Regions from separate parts of the Homo sapiens genome. Here regions 1, 3, 4, 5 and 6 are each linked to region 2. Evidence: promoter capture Hi-C in human tissues and cell types (Jung and others, 2019). All regions are on one chromosome and are shown on one strand. Each heading gives the region's core, a stretch centred on a gene start or on the middle of the fragment in contact. The rest is flanking DNA. Distances are from core to core; before and after follow the strand shown.

Evidence for each region. Contacts are between HindIII fragments. The study calls those that stand out against the background at their distance.
Region 1: a contact is called between a fragment that was not itself captured here and the fragment with the promoter of DPH6 in region 2, in 2 of the 25 tissues and cell types used here (dorsolateral prefrontal cortex and lymphoblastoid cells).
Region 3: a contact is called between a fragment that was not itself captured here and the fragment with the promoter of DPH6 in region 2, in 1 of the 25 tissues and cell types used here (spleen).
Region 4: a fragment that was not itself captured here is called in contact with the fragment with the promoter of DPH6 in region 2 in 1 of the 25 tissues and cell types used here (dorsolateral prefrontal cortex).
Region 5: a fragment that was not itself captured here is called in contact with the fragment with the promoter of DPH6 in region 2 in 1 of the 25 tissues and cell types used here (dorsolateral prefrontal cortex).
Region 6: a fragment that was not itself captured here is called in contact with the fragment with the promoter of DPH6 in region 2 in 3 of the 25 tissues and cell types used here (dorsolateral prefrontal cortex, lymphoblastoid cells and spleen).

The regions. Positions count from the first base shown.
Region 1 is chr15:36,834,853-36,837,552 of GRCh38, reverse strand. No RefSeq gene overlaps it. Among named protein-coding and RNA genes, the nearest start is that of MIR8063, 140 kb to the left of the region's middle. The HindIII fragment of the contact is 7,525 bases long and covers 1-2,700 here.
Region 2 is chr15:35,544,775-35,547,474 of GRCh38, reverse strand. It overlaps DPH6 (diphthamine biosynthesis 6), which reads left to right and starts at 1,310. Exons shown (of 9, transcript NM_080650.4): 1 at 1,310-1,356. The coding sequence starts at 1,334. It overlaps DPH6-DT (DPH6 divergent transcript), which reads right to left and starts at 1,280. Exons shown (of 3, transcript NR_038251.1): 1 at 1,002-1,280. RefSeq lists silencers at 838-887, 1,188-1,327 and an enhancer at 1,375-2,309. The HindIII fragment of the contact is 5,169 bases long and covers 1-2,700 here.
Region 3 is chr15:36,901,730-36,904,429 of GRCh38, reverse strand. All of the region lies in intron 9 of MEIS2 (Meis homeobox 2), which reads left to right. Among named protein-coding and RNA genes, the nearest start is that of MIR8063, 70 kb to the left of the region's middle. The HindIII fragment of the contact is 6,207 bases long and covers 1-2,700 here.
Region 4 is chr15:37,062,419-37,065,118 of GRCh38, reverse strand. All of the region lies in intron 7 of MEIS2 (Meis homeobox 2), which reads left to right. Among named protein-coding and RNA genes, the nearest start is that of MEIS2, 37 kb to the left of the region's middle. The HindIII fragment of the contact is 4,894 bases long and covers 1-2,700 here.
Region 5 is chr15:36,667,581-36,670,280 of GRCh38, reverse strand. The region is part of intron 5 of CDIN1 (CDAN1 interacting nuclease 1); the gene reads right to left. LOC124903466 (a long non-coding RNA gene) reads left to right here. Exons shown (of 3, transcript XR_007064582.1): 3 at 1,185-1,383. Among named protein-coding and RNA genes, the nearest start is that of CDIN1, 89 kb to the right of the region's middle. The HindIII fragment of the contact is 5,881 bases long and covers 1-2,700 here.
Region 6 is chr15:36,918,347-36,921,046 of GRCh38, reverse strand. All of the region lies in intron 9 of MEIS2 (Meis homeobox 2), which reads left to right. Among named protein-coding and RNA genes, the nearest start is that of MIR8063, 53 kb to the left of the region's middle. The HindIII fragment of the contact is 5,263 bases long and covers 1-2,700 here.

The DNA.
Region 1 (2,700 bases), core at 132-2,631, 1.3 Mb before region 2:
TCTCTGCCACCTTGCAACTTGGAATAAGTTTTCATGATGACATATCCAACAGGTATTTTAAGTATTTGTTTACTTGTCTCTTACCTTGATGACACCCTAGTTCTACAACAGTAGGGTCTTGTTATTCTTCTTTGCATCCTCAGTGTCTAGCATAAGACTTGACACATTGTAGGTGTTCTATAAATGTTTATTAAATTAATGAATAGAGGAATGGATTACTGAATAAGTGATGGAATGAATTAATAAATCACTTACCTCTGGTCAATGAGAGAGAGAACCAGATTCTCTTGTCCTGTTGAAAATACGGGTGATTTCCACATTTTTACCAGTTGTTATGGGTTGAGTTGTATCCCTTCCAAATAACTCCTAGTACCTCAAAATGTGACTACATTTGGAAGTAAGGTCATTGCAGATGTAATTAGTTAAGATGAAGTCATAAAGGAACAGCATGGGCCACTAATTCAACGTGACTGATGTCTTTATAAGAAAACGGTCATCTGAAGATAGAGATACACAGGGAGATAACGCATGATAACAAAGGCAGAGATTGGAGTAATGAAGCTGCAAGCCAAGGAATGCTAAAGATTGTCAGCAAACCACCAGAAACTAGAAGAGGCAAGGAAGGGTTCCCTTACAGTTCTCAGAGGGAGAGTGGCTTTGCCAATGCCTTGATTTTAGACTTCTGGTCTCTGGAATTGTGAGACAATAAATTTCTGTTGTTTTAAGCCACTCAGTTTGTGGTATTTTGTTATAGTTGTCCTTGGAAACTAAGACACTCTCTAAGCTCACTTTTAAATGTGGGGATTGCTTTTATGTAATTTTCCTTCATTTAATTATGATAATATGCACAATTCACTTCAATTTGTTAATGTTCACAATGTTTCTAAACAATGCTTCTCTCAAATATTTCAAATAAATACTTCAAATGTGAATGTCATATTTATCAGTAACACCGCTGACCTAAAAAAATGGTCCTACCAGAGCAGTATTAAGGATAGTCCCTACCTGGCACCAGAGCATTAAAGTCTCAGTAATCAGAGTTAATACAGTTTTTGAAAAAAATCAACTATTTGGGGATGTCATTTACATACAATAAAAATGAATCAATTTTAAGAGAAAAGTACAACAATTTGTTTATCCATTTACATGTTGATGGATGTTTGAGCTGTTTCCAGTTTTTGGCTACTATGAATTAAGTTCATATAAATGTTCATTACAAGTCTTTGTGTTGACACATGTTTTCATTTCTCTTGGATAAATATCCAAGGGTGGAATTGCTGGATCATAGGGTAAATGTATGTTTAAAATTTTAAGAAATTTTTAAACTGTCTAAGTGTTGCACCGTTTTACCTCCCCACTAACAATGTATGAAAATTTCAATTTTTCCATATTCTCCCCAAATCTCGATATTGTCAGTCTTTAAAACTTTGGCTATTCTAATGGGTGTGTATATTTTGTGGTTTTTATTTGCATTTTTCCTAATGACTAATAATGTTGAACACTTTTTCTCGTACTTATTGGCCATTTGTACATATTCTTTTGTGAAGTACCTGTTCAAATCATTTGCCCAGCTTCTAAACCTAGAGAGCTTGTCTTCTTACAACCCCTGAGTTGTAAGTGTTTTTAAAATACATATCCTGGATACAAATCTTTGTCAAATATGTTTTGTAAACATTTTCTCCTAGGCTATGGTTTGCCTTTTCTTTTTATTAGTGGTGTGTTTCAAAGAACAGAAGTTTTTCATTTCATTGAAGTCCAATTTATCATTTCTCTATCATGATACATGCTTTTTGTGGTTTATCTAAGAAATCTTTGTCAAGATCAAATAATCTTTTTGTCTTATTTAAAAAATAATTTCATAAATTTATCTTTCATGTTTAGGCTCTGATCCATTTTGAGTTAATTTTTGCATATGGTGTGAGGCAGGGGGTCTAGATTTCCTTCTCCTTATAAATGTATAGTTGTTCCAGCATTATATTTTGAAATACCTATGTTTTCTGCATTGAATTGCCTCAGCACATTTGTCAAAAATCAGTTGGCATTTAAGTCTGGGTCTATTTCCAGACTCTCTAGTCTGTTCTATTGATCTATGTGTCTATTTAGCACACTGCCTTGATTCCTGAAGCTCTATACTAAGTCTTGAAGTTAGGTAGATTAGTTCTTCAATTTCATTTTTCTTTTTCAAAATCGTCTCGGTTATTCTAGGTCCATTGCATTTCAATGTTAATTTCAGAATTAACCCATCAACTTCTAGAAAAAAAAACACTGCTGGTATTTTGCTTAAGATTGCATTGAGTCTATTGACCAATTTGTTGAGAACTGACATCTTAACAACATTAAGTCTTCAGATTCATGAATCTGATATTATTTATTTCAGACTTCTTTGTTTTTCTCAGTAGGAATTAACATATTTAAAAATAGTTTTTGTTAAAGTTTATTTCTCAAAGACAAACTATAATTCTTCCTTTTGTGACTTGGGTCTTGTTATACCCTGAGCAGGACAATGTATGGACTACTGAAAACAAAGGCAGAACCAAGAAAAATCAAACCATTCTGATATTGGTCATAAGTAATTTCTCTTCCTTCTTCCACGTAATAATAATGTTCATAGAATAAAATTGGATTATTTTACAATGGAGATGCAATTGACTTACAGAGATTACTTTTTCTTTTATAGTCAGAAAAAATGATGACAATACA
Region 2 (2,700 bases), core at 61-2,560:
GGCTCTATCTTCAAAATAGAGCTGGAATCCTCTTACTTCTCACCAAATTCACCATGTTGATTCTAGGCTCCGCCATCTCTCTACTGGAACACTGTAACAGCTTCCTAATAGGTGGATTCTCAACACTGCAATCCTTTTAAAATTTTAAGTCACACCCTTCAAAAGTCTGCAATTACCTACAAGACCCTATATAATCCTTCCCCTCCATCACCTTAACCTGCTCTCCACTACTCTCTGCTTTGCTCAATCTGCTCCAGCAACACGGATCTGCCTTAATCTTCCACAAACACACAACGCACCTAGAGCCTTCGATTTTTTTTTCTTGTCTGGAGCACACCCCAATCATACACATAGCGAACTCTCCTTATTTAAATTGGCTCAACTCTCATCTTACCAATAAGGCCTACATAGACACGATTTAATTCTGCAATTTGCCTCTCCACCTCTCTCCTGACTCTCCCCCACCGCACCCCGCCCCTTTCCAATAGCACTTTTCACTCTTCAACAGACTATTTACCTTTAAGATATGTATTGTCTGTTCTCTCCATCCCCATTTAAGCTCTATGCCCGGAATGCCGGGTTTTTGTTTTATTTACGGTTGTATCCACAGAGTCTAAAACAGTGCCTGGTACACGAAAGGCACTCAATACATACTTGGCAAATAAACTTAGAAGCTAGATTTTCTTTCTGCAAGGCCATTGCTCTTTGGTGAAGAGCCTGGCCTGGCCTTGTCAAATACACAAGCTTGACCAAGAGCCAAAGCCACAGAGGGCCTAGAGGTGGGGGGGGCTAGCCCCAGATTTAAAAATTACCACAGCCCCTGGGGATCTGAGTTTCACATCTGGACACACAGGTTTGGAGGACAGAGGAGATGTAAGTTAAAAAGCAGAAGTGTACAGTTGTTTCTGTTCTGTGGGGTGAGGAAGGACAAATTTCTTCTGCGCTTGCACGTCCGCAACTGTGTCAATTTGCAGCAATTGGGACGCTAAATCCCCTCTTACCAAAACAAATCCTGCGCCACTGGGCTTGGGCTCTGCAACGCGGACCTTGCCCTTCCCCCGGCAGCTTCAGTGCCCTCACTTAGGTGGTTAGGCCGTGCCTAAACCTCATTCTTTCCTGGGCCGAGATGTCCCTGCCACAGGGTCAAGGTGCCAAGGTGCCGCACCCTCCGCGCTCAGGTGTCCCGCAGGCAGCCGCGGGGCTCGCAGCGCCGATCCGCGGACAGGCGGCGGAGCGAACACCCGGGCGAGGCCCCGCGGTGCGTCACGCGAGCTGCGGCGCGACCTCCTGGCTCCCGCCCGCGCTCGCCGCACGCACGCGCACTGCGCCCAGCATGAGGGTCGCGGCTCTGATCAGGTAATGCGGTCCTGGAGCCGCCTCCTTCCTCCTAGGCCAGGCTCTCGTCCCTTCCAGCCGCCGCTAGCGCCGAAAGAGTGGGTGTCTCCGTCTGAGTCGCGCGTTGGGGGTTCCGCGGCTCCTCCGAGCCACAGGAAGAGGCGGAGCCTTCGCTGTTGCCGGCCCGCATGTGCCTCGGCCCCTGGCTGGCGCGCCTCCTCCCTGTCTGTCGCTCTCTGGTCTTCTAGCCCTTAAACTTGGATTCCCATTGGATTCAAGTGGGAAATTAAAAAAAGTACCGACGCCTGGGCCCCACCGCCAGAGGGATTGGTTTAATTACTTCTGTGCGACCCGGCGTCTGATTTTTTTTTTTCAAGCTCTAATGAGCCGTGAAGTTTGGAGCCACTACCTTATTCCATCAACTCAGTTAATAACCCTCGCCCTTTCCCCCTCGCTTTCTTCGTCCTCTTCTGTAGTTCCTTTGGTCAGCTGGGTCCGCCGCAGCCTGGCTTCCTCCCTAGTTGTAAGTGTTTCCGCCCATCCCAAGAAGTCCACCCCTCCCTCATCTTCACAGATGTGGATTGCTTATGGCATGTGTGTGTTTCTGCCTTTGGGCACTCAAGTACAGAGATCTCTCTTCGTGGTAGAGACCGAATTGTACTAGTCTTATGCTAGATCCAGTTGCTGTTGCTTCGGACTCTCATCATTGCTTTAGAGTGACCTTACCCTATACTCCGTATTCCAAAAGGAGTTTGATGTCTGTAGTAACCAAATCATAAATTTAAGTGTCTAAATAAGTCCTGTGACTGACAAACCAAAAACAAACCTGCTTAAATATTTCCATACTCAATCTATAAACTGAGGCAGAAGGGAACACACTAGCAACATTAAAAAGTTAGACTACTTAAATACTTGTTTCATGAGATTTTGCCCTGTAGAGTGTCTTAGATACAGTGCAACGATGTGCTTGCTTTTGTAATCCAATTGAAGATTTCATAAACGTTTTCGTTAAGTCCCTTAGGTAATTGATACTGGCTGTAAGTTTTGACCTATTAAGGACTTGATATGAGATTTCAGACCTACTGTAGTGTCTGGAATATTCCGGTTCCCTTTCCTTCAATGTCATTTTTAGGAGACTAGACCATAATGTCACAATAATTATTGTTGTTCAGTAAATGTCCTCTGTAACATAAATGATTAAGCTTTAACCATTGTGTCTTATTTTAAGAATTAAAAGTACCCCAGGAAGTGAATAATTCAAATTTACATCGCTTGCCAAAAGTTTAACGATTAAAGTAAAGCACAACAAACAAAGACTTAGAAGTATTGGAGGGGAGGAGAGAAGATTGGTAGAGTCAGTTACAC
Region 3 (2,700 bases), core at 155-2,654, 1.4 Mb before region 2:
AGGCTTCTTTCATACAGGTGTGTTTATGCCCCAGGCTTGCTGGCCACAGTCCATTCCATTTACAGAAGCTGAATTAAACAATAACTACTGCATTGCAAAAAATGGTGGGGGTGGGAGGAAGGGGAGGGGGAAAGGTGAGCGTCAAAGGAGATGCCTGAGAGCTTTGTTAGGGCCAAGAAAAACCCTGTTGCAGTTGTCAGAGCTTGTTGATGTTGCTGGGAACGGCACTTTTTTTTTCTCCTGGATTTTGTGGTTCTGCCTTAGGAAAGAAAGTAAAATAGAACGGAAGAACAAAGTCCTACTCTATAAATCAGCAGCTGCTCCTTGCCAGATCAAAGGAGTGACATTTTTGCTCCTGGACTACTTGTCCACTTGAGGGCTTGACAGGCAGCTAACAGCTGGCCTGCTAGACTGTATGGGAGAATCAGCCTACATCTTCTTCTGAGCAGATGACAAGCTAATCAGAGACATATCCATAGCACAGGGCATGTGAGTGCACCTTGATCTCTTCAAACATATCTAATACATAATTGCTAAACAGCTTGGTGCATTTTTGGCCAGTTAATGCTTAGGTGGTTTCCATTAAGAAGTAGGATAGAGAATTAATACTTCAATCAAAGGTGATCATGAAAGCTAAAAAGCTACTAGATTTGTTGGGATCTTTTCCTCTTACAGTAAAATGGCTAGGAACATAATGGGAGTTGGCTAAGAATGTGTGCAACTGATTGTGAAGTGACTGGTTGATTTGCAAAGCCAGGTCAGGCTACAGTGCTCAGATACAGAATAGGTAATTAGAAATCAGTAGTTTTGAAAATGATTGTGCCTGCTTTTTATGTTGATAGAGTTAAATAAACTTGTAGGTGTACCTTCTGTGTCTGCAAAAAGTTATTTTCAGAAGCACTGTAAGGTGTGTAGGTATCCAGATCTGGAATTTTAATGTCAGTAGTAAAAGTTTCAAAGTAATTCAGTTTCTAGTTGACTTCCATCTGCAATAAATCATGTACAGGATGAGGTAATATACTACAACTTATGTCTATTGACTTAGGATTTTATCTTTAAGAGGATAGATCCTAGATGTGAATAGCTAAGGAAGTTTGAGTGTTTTCTCCTCCCTTGCTTTCAAATAGCTTTGAAAGATCACTTTTATAGTGCATGATAAATAGCTACATATGAATAATCTGATGGCATTCTGTAAGAGTAACAGTGCTTCAAAATCGTAACCTGCTGGGATGTTTTGTTACATGCCATCAAGTGTGATTGTATTCATGGAATAGTGTTTACTGTTGCTCAATATTGTAAAGGAAATAAAAGATAATTCCCTATCTGAGGGGAAATTTCTCAAATATTTTAATTAAAAGGTCCCTACAGTTACCCATATAAACCTTAGTCAAATAAGATAACAAATTTTCTTGATCTCCTTTAAAAATTCTTTTATGTATAAAAATAATTATATTTATTAAAAACTCCAACAGTACAGAATTATTTGGAAAAAAAGATAGAAATCTACCATTCTCCTATCCATGCCTGAGAGATAGCCTCTGTTAACAGTCTTCACAAAAACATTTTACTGGCCCAGCTTTTCCTTTAAGAGGTACAGATGGAGTACAATAAATTAAATTATTATAAAGTGTTTATTGCCCAAGGCAAGTGAGTAAAAGGCTGTTTAGATCTAAGATACCTAAAGAGAAGAGTATGTGCATTTTTTTGCAGCTGAGATTCACAATTAAAACTTGATCTTTGCAAGTTTCTATTCTTAAGCAGAGCACTAGAATTTGATATGTGATCTAGAGCAAGGCTTCTCATACTTAAATGTACATAAATCCCTTGGAGATCTTTTAAAATGCAGAATCAGATTCAGTAGCACAGGAATGGGGACGGTAATGTATTTCTGCATCTCTAACAAGCTCAAGGTGATGTTGCTACTGGTCCATGGCACACATGTAAAGTAGCAAGGATCTAGAGAACCATACAGAGAGTGTGATTCCAAAAGAGCTCACTCCCCTATCCACCTCCCACCCCTGCAGGCAGATGCCTGCCCCAGTGTCTAAAATCTCCACCATAGCATTGTACATTTGGATTAAACTCCGATTTTTAGAAAGATCCGGCGATATGAACACACGCTACCTGTAGGAGTACAACACAGTTATTACCCTGTGGCCAATCCAGCATAGATTTGTTTAACAGCCACCCACCTATTCCTAATTACTATCTATGAGAGAACAGAGCTATTTAGGAGCATTGGATAGGTGCATTTTGACTGTAAGCTAACATTTAATGAGCTTGCTATGTGCCAGGCATTGTGCTAAGGATCTTGCATACAAAATCTCCCTCAATCCTCAAAACCACCCAGGCCCAGTTATTTCCTCAGTTTACAGATAGGAAACAGAGTGAAGCTTGGGAAGGTTAAGAAGAACTGTCCAAATTCACACAGCAAATAAAGGGCAGAGGACATGAGCCCATGCTCTTCACCGTATTGCTCTATGCATAAGTCTGGAGTATACAACAATAATGGAGAAGGGCATGCTCAAAGTAGAGTATTTTAGTAAAGAACCTCCAGGAGCCCTTGTAACTTTAGGGAAGAATTAGATGAAAGTAAGAATATTGAAAGAAGACAGTAGAAGGCCATCACTTACTTGATAATTTTGTCCAGGGCCTTTTATGTCAGCATGAACACTCCATTATTCAAGCCATATTCATAAA
Region 4 (2,700 bases), core at 94-2,593, 1.5 Mb before region 2:
TGAGACTATGTAAGTACTTCTAATCTCTAGTTGACCTGATCTTGAAAACTTCTGAAAAATATTACATCATGAGTGATCATAGGAATGAGAATGATATTTCAGCATAATTTCAAAATCACGTAGTATCCTATGTTCAAAGTTTTCTGTGCTAAAGATCTAAAAAGCACATTTTGAAAATATCTAGTTATCTTTGGCTCAACATTTCAATGGGAATTAGTTGCCTAAGAAATGATACCAGACAATAGATAATTTATTCCCTCTTTAGAAATGTTGTAGTTGTTTGTTGATTTTTACTCACTGGATTGGGTTTGTGGTTTAAAGAGAAGTTAATCCTGACTTTCTTAAAACCTATAGAGTTTCAGGATTTCTTAAAGACAATGGCTTTTGATACTCCAATCCAATCCATTTTCCCATGCGTAAGTGTTCTTATAACCTTCCTTTGCTCAAGTTCTAGGACAATGTCGATGGTGTCTACACAGTTAAAATTAATTTGAAAGTTGACCAATTATTCAATTATTTTGACTAATGAAAATCAAAAATAGTATTCCATTTTGCATAGCAGTAAGAAATTAGCCTAAATGTAACTAATCAATTCACTTTGCCTGTGCAAATATGTTTTATTGTATCATTTGCTGTAAGGATTGCTAATATTATTCATAATGTCCTTTTTATTTTAAACTTTTATAAGTGATATGGTTTTTTGTTTACAATTGGGGTCATATATATTACTACATATTTACGTTGTAAATATGTTTTTATGTAAATATACAAAAGAAAAATAGAAAAAATAGAGATTTCTTATCAGCATTATATACTAACGTAGTATCTGCATTGCTGGTTTGCTTTCTGTCCTGAAAATAAGTGGATATGTACACAGATGTCTTTAATTTCCTAGTTTTCTATTTAGTTGATATATTGTATGGAGACACAAATGAGGTATTTTCTCTCTTTTGATATCTTAAGTTTTAAAATATGTTATTTTATTTTGGTTGAGATAATGTGTAAGTTATCACTGGACCTTAAGTTCTATTTAGTTTTTGCTTTTACAGACTAAATGCTGTCTTCGCATATCATTACTTAACCCACCATAAAATCCTTCTGATCAAGTTTTTCATATATGGGACAAAAAAATCGTTTTGTTTCAAATCTTGACCAGTTCTAGCCTAAGAACTGTTTGACTTAAGCAAGAATTTCAACACAGATCTTGCAGCTTAACACCCATTGGTGAAGAAATATTTTCTCTTTATATTAGTTCATTTTTCATGGCTTCTTTATAGTGTCATATGCTATTAGGAAGGAGAAAAGCTAATGTGATATGTGAACTAATTTCTTGTTTAAAAATTTTAAAGAGTGCCATCTGGAATTCAATCACCATCTTTCCAGATACTAGCTTTATCGTAATCTGAGACTCAGTTCTATTTGATTATTACCATTGATAGACAGAAAAAAGTGCTAGATCAAGGAAAAGTACCTATGATATGTATACCCAAATATGGCAGCAATAGCAAGATTATCATCATTATTATAGCTAATGCTTGACAGCTACTCTATGCCCAACATTGTGCTGTACGTTTAGTATAATTTAATCCTCATAAGCTTGTGTGGGTTTTTCAGTTGGGAAAACTGAGGCTTAGAGAGACTAAGAAACTTCCCTTTACCTGGAATATCTAGAAAGTGGTGGGGCTAAGATTGTAAATCAGGTCTATCTAATCCCTAAATCCAGACACTTAACCAGGGTACCACACCCTGTCTGCAAGAAAAGTTGTCAAATGATGTCGGATACCTAGCAGTCCTGCACAGTAGTGCACGCCAGTAATCCCATCTATTTGGGAGGCTGAGGCAGGAAGATCACCTGAGGCCAGAAGTTTGCGTCCACCCTGAGCAACATAGTGAGACCTTATCTCTAAAAGAAAAAACAAAATGCTCTTAGATACCTGTTGTCAGACCTAAAATATGGGCTAGAGATGTTCCCTCATTCTGAAAGCTTCAGGTGGGTTTTGGTATTTTCTATCATATGCCTGGACATTTCAGTAAAGTTGTTTTGATGCTTTCTAGGTCATAATGGTAACGGAGATCAGCTCTTTTCTAAAAATCCACCCTGTAAGTATTGATTTGGTGACAGGCTTGTAATGCCATATATGGTTTTAGAAAATTACTGATAGTTTGGAATTGCCATACTGAAGAGACGTCTTACCCCATCCTTGAAGATGAACATTTCTCTGACATCATTTCAAGTGTCAAGTGAACAAAGTTTTCTAAGCTACTGATCTTGATGAACAGGATGATGATTAAGGCACAGAAATCACTGGTTTCCAATTTTTAAAAATACATTCCAAAAACATATGGCACATAACAGAATTCAACAGAAGAAGGTAAATTTGGTTAAATTCTTCAGGGGTCCTTATATGTAAATTTGATGCCATACAGTTGCCCTCACTAGGATAAAATTAGAATTTGTGAAGGATCTGATTGGAATTTCTCCTGGGAAGTTGTAGAGGATGAGCATGGATATTTGTTTTGATTTAAATATTGGCCTGTTCAATCTCCATGATCGTAGGACAAGATCACTGACAAAGCAAGAAGACAGTAAAGTTGTACGTTTCCGTCTTCTTTGTGAAAGATCTCTCCTTCTGTCTCTTTGACTACATCCTTGGAGTATACCATCCCTTCTGTGGCCTTATGTTTTTGCAACTAAAACTT
Region 5 (2,700 bases), core at 29-2,528, 1.1 Mb before region 2:
AAGGATATATGTTTGCTCAGTTTATGGGTAACACAGACAAGAGAAGAAGGAGTATGGAATTAAAAGAAAAAATTAAAATGTATGCTACAAATTTAAGTTCTAAATCTAAATAAAAGTTGTTTAGTGGGACTGTATCTCAAAATTATACATATATGTAAGTTCAAATATAAAAATGATAAATAAACAGGGAGAGGAGACTAAACTTCCTTACAGAAGAAACCCAAATAATATCTCTCCACACTCCTCTCTCCAGAAGGCAGAGTTTAATCATTCTCCTCAACTTGAGTGTGTACTAAATTTAGTGACTTGCTTCCAAAGAAGAGAGTATGGAAAGGGAAAAATAGTAATTTTACAATGGAGAAATCTAGCAAACACTAACCTAACCAACAGATTAAGGTTAACATAACCAGTGATAAATCATGTTGATACCACATACCCCTTGATATGATATAATGATAAGGGAACTTCACCTTATTCTTCCCCAAATCTATGAGAAAAACCTTAGACACATCCAAATTGAAGGCATTATGCAGAATATCCTCTGCAAAAACATCATGACCATCAAAAACAAGAAAAGATTGCTTTCACACACCAGAGGAGACTTGGGAAACAAGACAGCTAAATGTAATGTGGAATCCTGGATTGGGTACTGGTGAAATTTGAATTACGTCTGGAGTGCAATCAATAATAGTAAGGTACCAGTGAGGGTTTCTTAGTGTTGACAAATGTATCACAGTAATATAAGATGATAACATTAGGGATAACTAAAACTGAGTGATGGATATAGGCAGAACTCTCTGTACTATCTTTGCAACTTTTCTGTAAGTCTAAAATTATCCCAAAATAAAATTTTATTTTAAAAAAGTAAAAGCTTTCTATTAGACTTGCTTCTCCCAGAAATGACCTTATGACAAACTTAACCCTTTCATTACCACTAAAAACATCAACCCCTGTTACTTTTGAGAATGTTGGTTATAAGAATTCCAGAAGTATAAGATACAAGTATGGGTAATTACAGCAGGAAAAAAGTAAATTTCAATAGTGCATATGCAGATAGATCTAAACATATGCTGTTGTTTTGTTACTATAAGATATAATAAATTAGAAAACGAATTCAGGAAATTGAGGCCAGCCTCCATTCTATGTAGCTTTCATAAGACCATAATTAATTTCCGCCCATACAGAGCATCGTAAACATTATTTCAAGAGGTTTCCGAAAAGGATCTCTAAAATTATCAGAGAATTCACAATTCAAGAGTACCTAACGAAGAAGAAGGGAAATTAATCCTTCATATGGCTCAAGTGTAAGTATTTGTTGGAATATTACTGCCTATTACTATAAAAATCATGATTCTTTGAGTGCCTACTATGTGCCAAGTAACATGCCAGGCAATTTACAAAATCATCTTTAATCTGTTTAACTTTGAAAGGTAAATGTTGTTATCTGATTTTAAAGAAGAGCAAACTAGGGCTCTGGAAGACTTCACCCAGGATGACAGCTAGTATAGGATCAAACTGGGACTCCAACTCGACATATTGTGGAAATATGCACCAATGATAATAGGTGAGATTTAGGTAAAAAGAAGAAAAACTTTTATGACAGTAAGAGATGCTAAACACTTGGGCAATATCTAAACAATGCAGTCGATTTACATTCATTAAATAATGGAGAGAGGATGAATCTGAAATCAGAAGACACAGATTCTCCCACTCGTTCATTGCTTTTGTTTGTTCATTTGTGCATTCAGGCATGTAACAAGAGTAAGCAGGACATGTAGGCTTGGGTTTTCCAAGTTCAAGTCCCAGCTCTTGTCCTTTCTAACTGTATGACTAAGCTGGTCACTTAACCTGAAATTCAGTTTATCATTTATAAAATGCAATCATAACATTTGCCTTAGCTATGTCAGAGCTATTTATGTGTCAAATAAAATATATCAAAACTTCTTATAAACTATAAAGTTCTATTGAAATGTTTTACATGTTAGCTACAAAATTTCTTGATACCCTCTCAACCCTAGAGTCACAAGGAAATGGTAGGTACATTATCAACAAAATATTCACCTCAAGTCAACAAATATTTATGGATGTATCTAGGCAATGAACCAAGACAAGGAACACTGAGCCCAAGAAAAATTAGTCCTGTACTGATTATATAAAACATCTTCTCAGGCTGAAAAACAAAAACAAGAAATTGGAGATTAGGTGGCTTAGTGAAGAAGACAAAACATTTACCTACACATAATAATCAGTTTTAGCAAGAATAAGTTAGGGAATCCCCTTTAAAATACAAAGGTTAGCTTGTATACAATGACATCACAGATCAACTATAATCCAAGAGGCCAACACATAGGTCCTGAATGAAGCAGAAATTACCTACAATCTACTTGACGTGTTGTATTTTATGTTCTTGTAAAGAAAATAGCTCATATTGTCTGCATATTTTTATCTGGCTAATGAAAAAATACTATTCATATTTTCCAAGAATGTTGTTCATCAAGCTTCTTAAGCAAAATAGTATTAACAACTAAAATAAGAGCTATAAGGTGAAGCACAAAAGAAAAACTTCGTATCATCTCATTCTTAAATATATTAGCGTCTTCTCATGAATAAGAAGAAAAGTGGAATTCCTAAATTCTCAAACTGTGACGTAATATTGGTTTTATTGATTCTCTGTACAATTTGTAGGAGTACCCAATCATT
Region 6 (2,700 bases), core at 167-2,666, 1.4 Mb before region 2:
TCTTCGAGGTTAAAAATGAACAACAGAGGTTTTTTTTTGTTTTTGTTTTTGTTTTTGTTTTTTCCTGGCCCTTCTGAAACCTTTGGGGTGTGCTTTTACCAATAGAAAACAAGATCTGTTACCTCCCGGCCGTGAGCGCTGGTTAAATTTCAGCTTCCACCCATATTTGTCAGACTGGTCAGTTCCAGTCTAGGTAAAGGATGTAGAACAACAGATTCCACATGACTTCCATAGTAGTTTTTCTTTTTAAATTTAAGGACTTGATTACTTTATAACTTTTTATTGTTTTATCCTCAGAACACAGGTGATTCAGAGAGTATAGTTCTCATACACTAAGTCAAGACTGTATTCCTACTGTCTTCATTTGGTGAAAATGAGAAATAAGAGATTGTTATCTGCCAAAGGAAGCATGGAGGTCCATTTTCCCACATTTGTGATCCGTAAGTCATCATCCCATGTGGGCTCAACTTAAAGGATTTTTAGCAGACCTGTTTTTATTTATCAGTGAAACAGGTTCTGCATCATTCTCCCCTTTAGCCTTCTAAGATCTCTAAGAATTCTTTTATAAAAAGAAAAAGGTGGTACCTGAAGATCAGTATAGACCGGGCGCCGTGGCTCACGCCTGTAATCCCAGCACTTTGGGAGGCCGAGGCGGGTGGATCACCTGAGGTCGGGAGTTCGAGACCAACCTGACCAATGTGGAGAAACCCTGTCTACTAAAAATACAAAACTAGCCGGGCGTGGTGGCGCATGCCTGTAATCCCAGCTACTAGGGAGACTGAGGCAGGAGAATCGCTTGAACCCGGGAGGTGGAGGTTGCGGTGAGCCAAGATTGAGCCATTGTACTCCAGCCTGGGCAACAAGAGTGAAACTCTGTCAAAATAAAAATAAATAAATAAATAAATAAATAAATAAATAAATAAATAAAAGCAGTATAGGTTGCTAAGTGTTGCTGGGACTTTAATCTCCAGCCTCCATTTCTTCTTGTTTTTCTTATTCCAGCATCAGTATCCATGCTCCAATGACTATGTAGTTTAACTTCCTTCATCCTTGACTTCAAGGAACAATAACTAGAAGGGTATGTTGTTCTTACGTGCCTAAATATTTGGACGAATAATTTGTGAGCTCTAAATAAAGATCCACCTATTGTGTTTATGCTCATCCATGTCAGTGGAAGGAGAAAATGATACTCTGAAAGACAAAATCTAGCAAGATAGCTTAAAATTCAGGCTATCTCACTTATTACTTGCTCTATTTCATCTACATTCTAATAATGGGTCATTGTAGATAAAATACCAAGTGCAAGTCAATAACACAAATTTTAATGTTCATCCTCCAATGTTTAGGTGATTATAGAAATTAGTGCTATGACTGGACCACTGTACACATAAACTAGCCACTAATCAGAATTCTTTTGGTAATATTGAGGATTTTTTAAATTACTGTTTCCAATTTTTTTTTTTTTTTTTGAGACGGAGTTTCACTCTTGTTGCCCAGGCTAGAGTGCAGTGGCGCAATCTCGACTCCCACAACTTCTGCCTCCCGGGTTCAACAGATTCTCCTGCCTCAGCCTCCTGAGTAGCTGGGATTACAGGCATGTGCCACCACGCCCAGCTAATTTTGTATTTTTGGTAGAGACAGGGTTTCTCCATGTTGGTCAGGCTGGTCTCAAACTCCTGACCTCAGGTGATCCACCCAACTTGGTCTCCCAAAGTGCTGGGGTTACAGGTGTGACCCACCGTGCCTGTCCCTCCAAAATTTCTTAAGTACATAAAACATTGATAATATTTGTACAAGTATTTGTCCAAAAATTTATCCAAATATGCCCATTATTTGGATAAATCTTTATTTATTTATTTATTTTTGGAGACAGAGTCTCCCTCTGTTACCTTGGCTGGACTACAGTGGCATGGTCATAGCTCACTGCAGCCTCAAACTCCTAGGATCACGTGATTTTTCCCACCTCAGTCTGCAGAGTAGCTGGGACTCAAACTCCTAAACTCAAGCAATCCTCCTGCCTCTAGGCCTCCCAAAGTGGTGGAATTACAGGCATGAGCCAATGTGCCTGGCCTAAAATCTTTAATCTTTACAATTACGAGGTAGGTATCATCTCCATTTTACAGATGAGAAATGGTGAGTCAGAGAGGTCATGTAGCTGAGAAATTGCACCAGCAGAATTCAAACTTACCACCTAACTTCAGTCCGGTACCTTTTCTACTAAGCTTATGACTAGGAGTACTTGCTCTATCTGTGCATTTACTTAAGTAGTTTTCTCTATCTGGTATGTTCTCTCTCCTTCTGTCCTTCCCATTCCCTCCTGTCAGAATCCTTCAAGGAAGGGCCCAAAGCTTCCTCTCCTCCTCCCGCTCTCATCCAGGTTATCTCCACCTTTTCTGCACACCCATGGCCACTCTTCTGGCATTGAGACTCTTTCATCTTATTGCATGGTTATTGCTTTACCGCTAAACTCCAACCTTTCTGAGAGCAAGACTAAATCTTCTTCATCCATGTATGCCTTGCAGTGTCTACAGGATTGTAAGCATTAACATTTATTTGTAGAATTTTTTAAATATGTTTCCTTGTAATTCTCACCTACTGTTCTGATGTCTTTACAATACAAATTGGACTTCACATTGCATCTTCAGGTTAAGTCTTTGAAGTAGACTATATAATTTATTCTCATTTTACATTTGAGGAGAT